Regions from separate parts of the Homo sapiens genome. Here region 2 is linked to region 1. Evidence: promoter capture Hi-C in 16 types of primary human blood cells and fetal thymus (Javierre and others, 2016). All regions are on one chromosome and are shown on one strand. Each heading gives the region's core, a stretch centred on a gene start or on the middle of the fragment in contact. The rest is flanking DNA. Distances are from core to core; before and after follow the strand shown. Region 1 holds the start of TPPP2 (tubulin polymerization promoting protein family member 2). Region 2 holds the start of RNASE3 (ribonuclease A family member 3).

Evidence for each region. Contacts are between HindIII fragments. The CHiCAGO score rates a contact against its expected background, and 5 or more counts as called.
Region 2: the fragment with the promoter of RNASE3 here is called in contact with the fragment with the promoter of TPPP2 in region 1 in 8 of 17 cell types (erythroblasts, M1 macrophages, monocytes and 5 more); the score reaches 15.0 in erythroblasts.

What each region holds. Positions count from the first base shown.
Region 1 is chr14:21,027,702-21,032,631 of GRCh38, forward strand. TPPP2 (tubulin polymerization promoting protein family member 2) reads left to right here and starts at 2,516. Exons shown (of 4, transcript NM_173846.5): 1 at 2,516-2,603; 2 at 2,812-3,053; 3 at 3,311-3,464; 4 at 4,191-4,930. The coding sequence starts at 2,881. The coding sequence ends at 4,376. It also overlaps a transcript of NDRG2 not described here. The HindIII fragment of the contact is 5,962 bases long and covers 2,322-4,930 here.
Region 2 is chr14:20,888,329-20,893,258 of GRCh38, forward strand. RNASE3 (ribonuclease A family member 3) reads left to right here and starts at 3,057. Exons shown (of 2, transcript NM_002935.3): 1 at 3,057-3,123; 2 at 3,354-4,020. The coding sequence starts at 3,359. The coding sequence ends at 3,841. All of the region lies in intron 1 of LOC100507513 (a long non-coding RNA gene), which reads right to left. The HindIII fragment of the contact is 4,045 bases long and covers 3,023-4,930 here.

The DNA of each region.
Region 1 (4,930 bases), core at 1,266-3,765:
TTTATACATACAGATTCTAGGGCCCTTTGCAAGATTTCAGAAATCCTCACGCCAGGAGGCTGTGGCCCACAGTCTAGAAATCATTATCTTACTATAATTCAGAGAAGGAAAAGGGCTTTGTTCCTAGGATGAACCACCAAATGAGAAGTGCAACCATGGAATACTTGAGTGGGAGTGAGGGGCATTCTATCCAGGCACAGAGAGAGCATGAAGGACAGTTTGGAGGCAGAAACATTCAGGTTACTTTGGAGAACTGAATAGTAGCTTCCCATGTATTATCCCCTAATACCGTAAGGTTAGTGTTATCGTCCTCACTGTACAGATGAGAAAATTGAAACTCAGAAATGTTTAGTGAGTTGCCCAAGTCCACTCAGCTAGTAAATGACATATCTAGGATTCATTTCCCCACCCCGGTCCATTCCACTCCAGGGACTATGCTCCTTCCACTCCCAAGTAGCCTGTCAAGTGTATAGCAATTAGGCCATATGACCCCAGCTGCAGAATAATCTGGTTCTTAGGTTTTTTGTTTCTTGGGGTTCTTTTTGTTTTGTTTTGTTTTGTTTTGTTTTTGAGATGGGGTCTCTCTGTCAGCCAGGTGGGAGTGCGCTGACACAATCCTAGTTCACTGCAGCCCCAAACTCCCGGGCTCAAGCAATCCTCCCACTTCAGCCTCCTCAGTAGCTGGGACTACAGGTGCATGCCACCACTCCCAACTAATTTTTTTATTATTATTTATTTATCTAGAGACAAGGTCTCACTTTGTTGGCCTCCCAAAGTGCTGGAATTATAGGCATGAGCCACTGTGCCCTGCCCAAGAATAATGTTGATGAGAGGTGGGTGATGTTTGGTAGGGTAGATTGGGGCCTAGTTAGTTGTATAGGTCCTTGAATGCTAAGCAAAAAGATTTAGCAATGAGAAGCTATAGTATATCTTGAGCCACAGAATATTCTTGAGCAGGAGTAATAAAAAATACTGTTTTGTGAAAATTAATCTGATGGGGAGGAGGTAATAGAGATGGATTATGGGTGGGTGGGAGTGAAGAATTAGATTTAGAAAAGAGATCATTTAGAAACCAGAGTAGTCATCCAACTATGAGATGATAAGAACTTGAATAAGGGTGGAAGCAATAGGAATGGAAAGAAAGGCATAGATTTGTAAGACAAAGAAAAAAAATAGAAAGTGGTGGCATTATTAGATGGGAAAAGGAGGAAAGTCACCAGTCTCGTTGCTCTGTTTTAGGATCCGTGAGGTTCATCTATCTGTAGTGCTTCTGGCCAGAGAAAAGGCCGAAGAGAGAAAACCCTGAGGAACATCTTTGACCTGCATAGAAACTTATCTGAAGATTTTCAGAATCTGAGCCTCACCCTCAGTCTATCCCAGTTTTATCCTGACCTGTCCACATCTGTTATACTCCAAGGCTTGCTGGGCCCAACACTGGAAGCTATTTAATGTTTCTATTGCGACTGGCCTTTTAAAGCCAGTGGGATTCTCCATGCTACACTTGAGCCTGGAGACTAGAAAACATGACAGCCTGTTTTCATTAATCCGTTTTCATTAACTGCTGTGGTCTGAATGTTTATGTTGTCCACAGATTCATATATTAAAATCCTAACTCCCGGCTGGACGCAGTGGGTCACACCTGTAATCCCAGCACTTTGGGAGGCTGAGGCAGGTGGATCACTTGAGGTCAGGAGTTCGAAACCAGCCTGGCCAACATGGCAAAACCCCGTCTCTACTAAAAATGCAAAAATTAGCCAGGCATAGTGGCTGGGCTAATCCCAGCTACTGGGGAGGCTGAGGCATGAGAGTCGCTTGAATCCTGGGACTGGAGGTTGCAGTGCCCCAGGATCATGCCACTGCATTTCAGCCTGGGCAACAGACAGCGAGACTCCATCTCAAAATAAATACGCAAATAAATAAAATAAAATCCTAACTCCCAAAGTCATGGTATTAGGAGATGGGGCATTTTGGGGGGTGATTAAGTTTTATGAGGGCAGAGCCTTTCTGAATGGGATTCATACCCTTATAAATAGGCCCAAGGGAACTCATTCACCCCTTCTACCATGTGAGGACACAGCAAGAAGGTGCCATCTATGGACCGGAAAGCAGCCCTCACCAAACACTGAATCTGCCAGCACCTTGATCTTAGACTTCTCAGCCTTCAGAGCTCTGAGAAATAAATGTCTGTTGTTTATAAGCCACCCAGTTTGATATTTTGTTCTAGCAGCCCAAACAGACTACAACACCTTCCCTGGGCTCGCCTCAGCTTCTGTTGTGGGGCAGAGCATAAGGCAATTTGACTAGGACCCAGAGGATGGGTAAGCTTGGCTGAAATGATGGAAATGTGATCATCTGAAAAGGTCAGAAAGTTGGCAGTTTGCTCAATTCGGCATGCAAGGTAGGGAGACCAAAAGCCCCCTCCTTTGAAGGCAATGGCTGTAGCTGGGGCCAGAAGTGATGTCACATAACCACTGCTGAGGTCATAGAATCTTCCCTCTCCTCCCTCTGTCTCCTCATTGCCACAGCCAACCGGCTCCCACATATCTGCACACACTTAAATACAAAGGCCGGGAAGGGTCAGACCACCATCCGGGTACTCTAAGGTACATAAAAGAGGTAGGGGAAAGAGAGGATCATTCAGTAGGTAGGATCCACACTGGTATCTCCAATGCTGGGAATGGGAGACTCATGCTGTAGTTGCGTAGGTGCAATGGGAGCTGGGAGGGAGAAAGGAGAGAGCAACAGGGAAGAGGGGAGCTGTTCCTGTTGCTGACTGATTTTACCATAACACTCATCCTCATTACTCCACAGTCCTCCCTCCCCCTTCTCCTTCACCCCCAAGTGTCTCCCACGACTGCCCTCCCCGACCTCTAGCTGACCATGGCATCAGAGGCAGAAAAAACATTCCATCGGTTTGCTGCGTTTGGAGAATCATCAAGCAGTGGCACTGAAATGAACAACAAGAACTTCTCCAAGCTGTGCAAAGACTGTGGCATCATGGATGGCAAGACAGTCACCTCCACGGACGTGGACATCGTGTTCAGCAAAGTCAAGTGAGGAGCCAAAAATATGGAGGTGGGGGTGAGAAGAACCTGCGAGGTAGTTGGCCACGGAAGGGTTCACGTGGTGGAACATTTGCAGTGGGCCTACCAAGCACCACAGGGTACCTGGCGCTGTGCTATCCTTTGTCTTCGAGACACTCACTGATTGATAGGACAAAAGAGGCCAAATCTGAGTGAGGCAAGAGTTGGACCTTGGAAGGTAATGCATTCATGCTCCAAAGTTTCTGGATTTCTGTCTAACTGACCAGGGCCAAGAACGCCCGAACCATCACGTTTCAACAGTTCAAAGAGGCAGTGAAGGAACTGGGCCAGAAGCGCTTCAAAGGGAAGAGTCCAGATGAAGTCCTGGAGAACATTTATGGACTCATGGAGGGCAAAGACCCAGCCACCACTGGCGCTACTGTGAGTGACAGCCTTCATCCCCTTGACCCTACTTCCCTAAATCCCCATTGTTCCAGTCTACCCTCCCTAACCCTGCCAACTGTGTGACTGTAGAGACAGGGCCGAAACAGACTTTAGAGATCATCTAGACATTCCAGAAGTCAGGAAAATGTGGCCCAGAGAAGGGAAGTGACTTGCCCAAGGTCCATGGCTATTTTAATAGTAGATTTAGACTAATTTCCAAGTGTCTAGTATCTGAGCCAGGCAATTAGGGCTTGGTAGCTTTTGGAGGACATTAGTGTAGAGAATTTGGTACCTGATGCCCACTCCTCTTCCAATTCTTATTTAGGGTTTAATCTCAGGCCTCCTGCCTCTCACCTACTCCCTTTTTTAATTGTCCTGTCTGAACTAAAAGCTCTTTCTACAGTGGATATTGAGTCGGGGAGTGGGAGTGAAGTCCTCAGGCAGCAGCCTAGTCAGAATAACTCCTCTGGAAACAAAAAACCTACCCTCCCTCTGCACACGCCACACTCATTCCCACACCACACTCCTCCTCCCCCATGAGTGAACGGCTCTTACCAGAGTACCTGCCCACAGCTGTATCTGGGCCCTAAGAAAGCAGCACCCCATGCCAGTGGCAGAGCAAGAGCTCCAAGCACTTGTTCTAAGTATCTCGGGCCATCTTTGGGGAAGGGATATGACAGCGTAAGGAAAGGAAGAGAGCTCAAATCCATCCCTGGCTTGCAGAAAGCAACAACAGTGGGTGCAGTGGACCGTTTGACAGACACCAGCAAGTACACCGGCACCCACAAGGAGCGCTTTGATGAGAGTGGCAAGGGCAAGGGCATTGCGGGACGGGAAGAGATGACTGACAACACAGGCTATGTGAGTGGTTACAAGGGTTCTGGCACCTACGATAAGAAGACCAAGTAGAGAGGAGCTTCATCTCAGCCTGCTAGCCCCCTGACCCTGCATGTTTAACACCAGGGAGCTTGGAAAACAATAAACATCTGTGTGTGCAGCAGCCAAAATCTCTGTCTGTGAGGGACAGATGAGCCTACTAGTGTAGAGAGAGGGAGAAGAGGCAGCACAGGAGGGTGGGTTCTCCACCACACACCCTTCGCTCTGCTTAGCCTTATGCCTACCAGCCATCAGTTAGCATTCCTCCTCAACAGCTGCTTCCAAGAACAGGATGGAAGAATATATTTGGAGTAAAGAGATGAACCAGATGTGGAGGTAAAAGTATCTACTACTTGTGTTCACACATTACTGATATCCACCTCTCCACCCCCACCCCTCAAAAGGGTGTAGCAATTCCTCACGTGATGGACTATGACTATATCACATATTAGATCCTTCCCTGTCCCTCCACCTTCCTCATCTGTTGCAATTCAGGTTTTTTGGGTGGAGGAGTAGAAGCCAGCTAAGGTTGCCTGACTTCTATTACAAATTTGTTCCAGAGCTGGGGTAAGGGGAGAGTCTATTTT
Region 2 (4,930 bases), core at 1,807-4,306, 140 kb before region 1:
ATCGCAATTACTTTTGCACCAACCTAGTAAATAGTGTGCATTGTCTTTCCCATAGATAGCCACTGCTGCATTAGGGAAATCTGTGTGCAGGAAGGTATCGATGGTTTGGTACCTCCCTGTCAGCAGGTTAAGAGCAAATATTGCAAGGGTACCCTGGGGCTGAAGAAATTGCAAGCATTGAACATTATATTTTTGCACATAAATGCTATGCAAAAAAGACATTGATCAATGCAGTGTACTCAACAGTGGTTTTTACCACAAATGCAGAAGTCTTTGTCTGGGATAATATTTTACAATGTTCATCGGTTTCCAAAAAATGACTTAACACTAGGGCGTAATTCTGACTATTCCTCTCATTGGAAGTGTGGATCAGGTCTGAAAATGTGTCGTTAAATTAGGCTGCAAGACAAGTTATGCTAATAAAATAAAGAGCCCGGGTGAAGTGCCTTGTGTCTGTTCAAGACAAAATCATGCTGAAGTTACAGAGAATTTTGTTTCGATTACAGAGATCATAACAGATAATTTTCTTTAATGTTGACTTATACTTTATTCCTGCTTCATATAAAACATCTTCTCTCAAAGGTCATAAATATCAAAGTAGATCATTTGTACTACTTCTGCTGGCAAATGAAGGTAGTTGGAAATGTACGCAGGAAATCTACACAAGGGACAATCAGAAAAACCTTATGAGCATGTTCTGAATGCAATTTTTATGGCTGGGAGCAGTGGCTCATACTTGTAATCCCATCACTTTGGAAGGCCGAGGTGGGCGCATTACCTGAGGTCAGGAGTTTGAGACCAGCCTGGCCAACATGGTGAAACCCCGTCTCTACTAAAAATACAAAAATTAGGCGGGCATTGTGTCGAGCGCCTGTAATCCCAGCTACTCAGGAGGCTGAGGCAGGAGAATCACTTGAACTTGGGAGGCGGAGGTGGAGGTTGCAGTGAGATCACGCCACTGCAGTCCAGCCTGGGTGACAAGAGCAAGACTCCGTCTCAAAAAAAAACAAAAAACAAAAAACTCCACAATTTTAAAGGATGAATATGGTTGCAAATTGGGCAGGTTATGGTCTGCTTAAGACACTTCAATAAGTCTGATATGTCATAAGCACAGATGTCTTCAGGAGCCAGGCAGGTGTCATCACTGAACAGATAGGATAAAAGTCAGGAGGGAGAGTGGAGTCAGAGAACAGCCCTGAGCTAGAGCCCCTTCCACAGACGCAGCTGTTACTCAGCTCTAATTGATACAACACCAATGGTGCACCAACCACCATCATGTGATTTTTAAAGATAAGACAGTAATGAAAACTTTTAGTGAACTATTCCAATGTCAAACTTTATCTTCCAAACCAAACATCATAAATAGCACTGTGTATGCTGAAAAGAAGCACTGTTTAGCCAAGTACCTGCCCTGGGGCTGCAGTCTATGTCTTTTGCCTCATACTATAGACACTTAAGTGCAAATGTTTCTAGCCAGTGTGGCTGTCAGCATCACAGAGGGGATACTCTACGTATCATTCACCTTTACATTCTCATCACCTACAAAAATGATCTCCACACAATATACATGAAAAAATAAACTTGCCTCATGATAAAGCTGCTAATGAATGTCGGCCAGAACAGGACTTCAAGGCAGAGCAATATTAGCTGCGCATTGAGTCCTCACCAGGTCACCATTGTGTCCACATTTACCTAAGGACCCCAGTGATAAAATTATTGCATTTCTAAATGACAGGAAAATTGGACGGTAGTAAAAATTAGGCAGATTAACTGTTGGAAGGTATATTATATCATTTAAGGGTCTACTTTCCATTTTCTAATCTCAAAGCTAGACCAGATTTAACATCTGTTAGTACCCAGGCCTTACCTTTGCAATTCACTTCTCACCTCTGTACAATTTCCCCACATCATCCCCTGTGCCCAGAATGCTCATCTCTTCTCTAAATCCCCTGAAAATCCCCTGCTTATCCTTTAGGACCTGCTGAAATAAACTTTTTTTTGAAGTTTTCCTTATTTCTCAAGCCAAGTGATTTCCTTCACCAGCAGTGTCCCTATGACACCATGTTCACACAAATGCTATTACCTCTATCACACTGTAATACAATTATATGTCTACAAGTACTTTCCTGTGTTTCTCTGAGGGCCAAGAATAAATGTATGCTTTGTGTATCAAACTGTACACTTGACCTCTATACTTTCAGGAATACAGTGCTCTGTCCTTAAATGTTCATTTGTAAATACAGAACCATATTCTTGTTAATATCACAAAATGAAACTTACCAGGAAGATGAATGACAACCCCAGAACACACTGTTTTGTAGAAAATACCATAGGCTGAAAAGATCACAGGAATACCGAGTGCTAGGTTGGAATCTTTCATGACACCAAATGTTCATTCATCCTCTGCCAGATTTTACAACTGTCCTCGGTGTGTTTTTAGGTTATGTAACTTTACACAAAGTGGAATCAATAATCAGGGCAAGACTTAAGAGAAAGTGGATCCAATGCAAGAGGAGTAAAGAAAAAAATTCCTCAATTGTATGGAGCAGATTGTTTTAATTATCTACAGAATCTTGTGCCCCAAGAAATTAATAGCTCAAGTTTCCAGCAAGAGTGGTGGATGAGATGGAGAGCATTTATGTGAGAGAGAACCAAGGATATTACTAAAAATGGAAGGGAAGCTGGGTTTCTCCTGGGCAAACAGCCCTCTGTGGCTCTATTTCTCCTAACTACTATGCCTGCCTTCGTGTCATTTAGTCATTTAGGGGCCTGCCAGAGGACAGTTATAAAATCTGTGGTCATTCTGCCGGCAGCGTATAGTTTTCACCCAGAGTCCAGATCCCACCGGCAAAACTCTGTCTAACACAGGATGACTTGGAATTAGAGTCCGTATAGCAGAAAGAGCAGCAGGGCTGTCCTTGGGTATCCGTTGCTCAGCCAAGTCATCAAATAAAAAGGATGATTGCACAAGTGGACCATGTGTCAATCTGTGGGTTTCTGCATGGCCAGACCCACCAAGGGAAGCTTTATTTAAACAGTTCCAAGTAGGGGAGACCAGCTGCCCCTGAACCCCAGAACAACCAGCTGGATCAGTTCTCACAGGAGCCACAGCTCAGAGACTGGGTAAGTCAACAATCCCCAGAGCTGGGACAGGAGGGGCAGCGACAGGGCAGCACCTGAGGGAGAGGTGAGCTGAAGTTAGTGCTTAGGAGATGTGGCACACTTTGGGGACAGGAAGAAAAGGAAATGCGACCCCAGAGTGGCAGCAGAGGGGCCTGTGGGTTGAGACACTATAGAGTGTGTCATAACCGAGACCGGATCGGGGAGTAGTTACTTCTCTTCTTTTCTTACAGGAAACATGGTTCCAAAACTGTTCACTTCCCAAATTTGTCTGCTTCTTCTGTTGGGGCTTATGGGTGTGGAGGGCTCACTCCATGCCAGACCCCCACAGTTTACGAGGGCTCAGTGGTTTGCCATCCAGCACATCAGTCTGAACCCCCCTCGATGCACCATTGCAATGCGGGCAATTAACAATTATCGATGGCGTTGCAAAAACCAAAATACTTTTCTTCGTACAACTTTTGCTAATGTAGTTAATGTTTGTGGTAACCAAAGTATACGCTGCCCTCATAACAGAACTCTCAACAATTGTCATCGGAGTAGATTCCGGGTGCCTTTACTCCACTGTGACCTCATAAATCCAGGTGCACAGAATATTTCAAACTGCACGTATGCAGACAGACCAGGAAGGAGGTTCTATGTAGTTGCATGTGACAACAGAGATCCACGGGATTCTCCACGGTATCCTGTGGTTCCAGTTCACCTGGATACCACCATCTAAGCTCCTGTATCAGCAGTCCTCATCATCACTCATCTGCCAAGCTCCTCAATCATAGCCAAGATCCCATCCCTCCATGTACTCTGGGTATCAGCAACTGTCCTCATCAGTCTCCATACCCCTTCAGCTTTCCTGAGCTGAAGTCCCTTGTGAACCCTGCAATAAACTGCTTTGCAAATTCATCTGGAAGTGTCTGTGTGTCTTCCTCGGCCGCTCTGCTGTCATTTAGTGACAATCTGCTCTAGAGATTTGGGTTTATCATGAATCTCTCCCCCTCAATATCTGACCAAATTCCTTAATTCCCCCATCATCCTTCATGTGATACCTGATTCCAGGCCTGCCTTAAAAAAAAATCCAATTGAGTCAACTTAGCATTGGTCTCCCTAGCCTTAATATCTCCTCTAAGCAATTTTCCATCCACTGACTCCTCCCCCAACACCAACCTATAACTTGTGTATAGATCTCCACTTGTTTTAGTTGTATTCCAGAATTGAGCCCAATTTGATATTGAGGTCCCATTTGATGCTTTATGGTCCGACTATGGTTTTTATTGACATGATTTCTATCCCAAGAAAAAAAGAGCTGCAGTGAATCAGCTGAAAATGCACGTGCTTCATTATGATTTATGAATGATAAATTTTGATAGAATTGAACGTTATGATAGAAAATAGAAAAGAAGAAAGTAGAAAAAGTCAAGAATGCTATAAATAAGGTGAAACCAAGATAAAGAAAAGTTTAGCCTCAGGGATATTTCTTTTAAATGGGCACATCAAGTCTCCAGCTATTAGCAATCGTAATAGAGGTGGAACCAGGGTTTGAGTCAAATGTGCAATAAGATAAATTGTTCCGACAGCAGTAAGGACAGATTGTAATGCTGACTGGAGGAGAGGTGGACATCTTTCCCAAAAGTTCCATGTCCTGGAGATGGGGAGCCGCTGGTCACGTGGGAAGGAGAAGGGGGAGGAGGAGGAGGAGGAAGTGGGAGCACTCATGAAGGTGAGTTGGCTCCTGCCCATTCTGCCCTCCATAGATGTTCCCAATGGCGAGTCAAAGGTTCATTCAACACCTGTCAGGAAGGGCACAGCCTCGAGA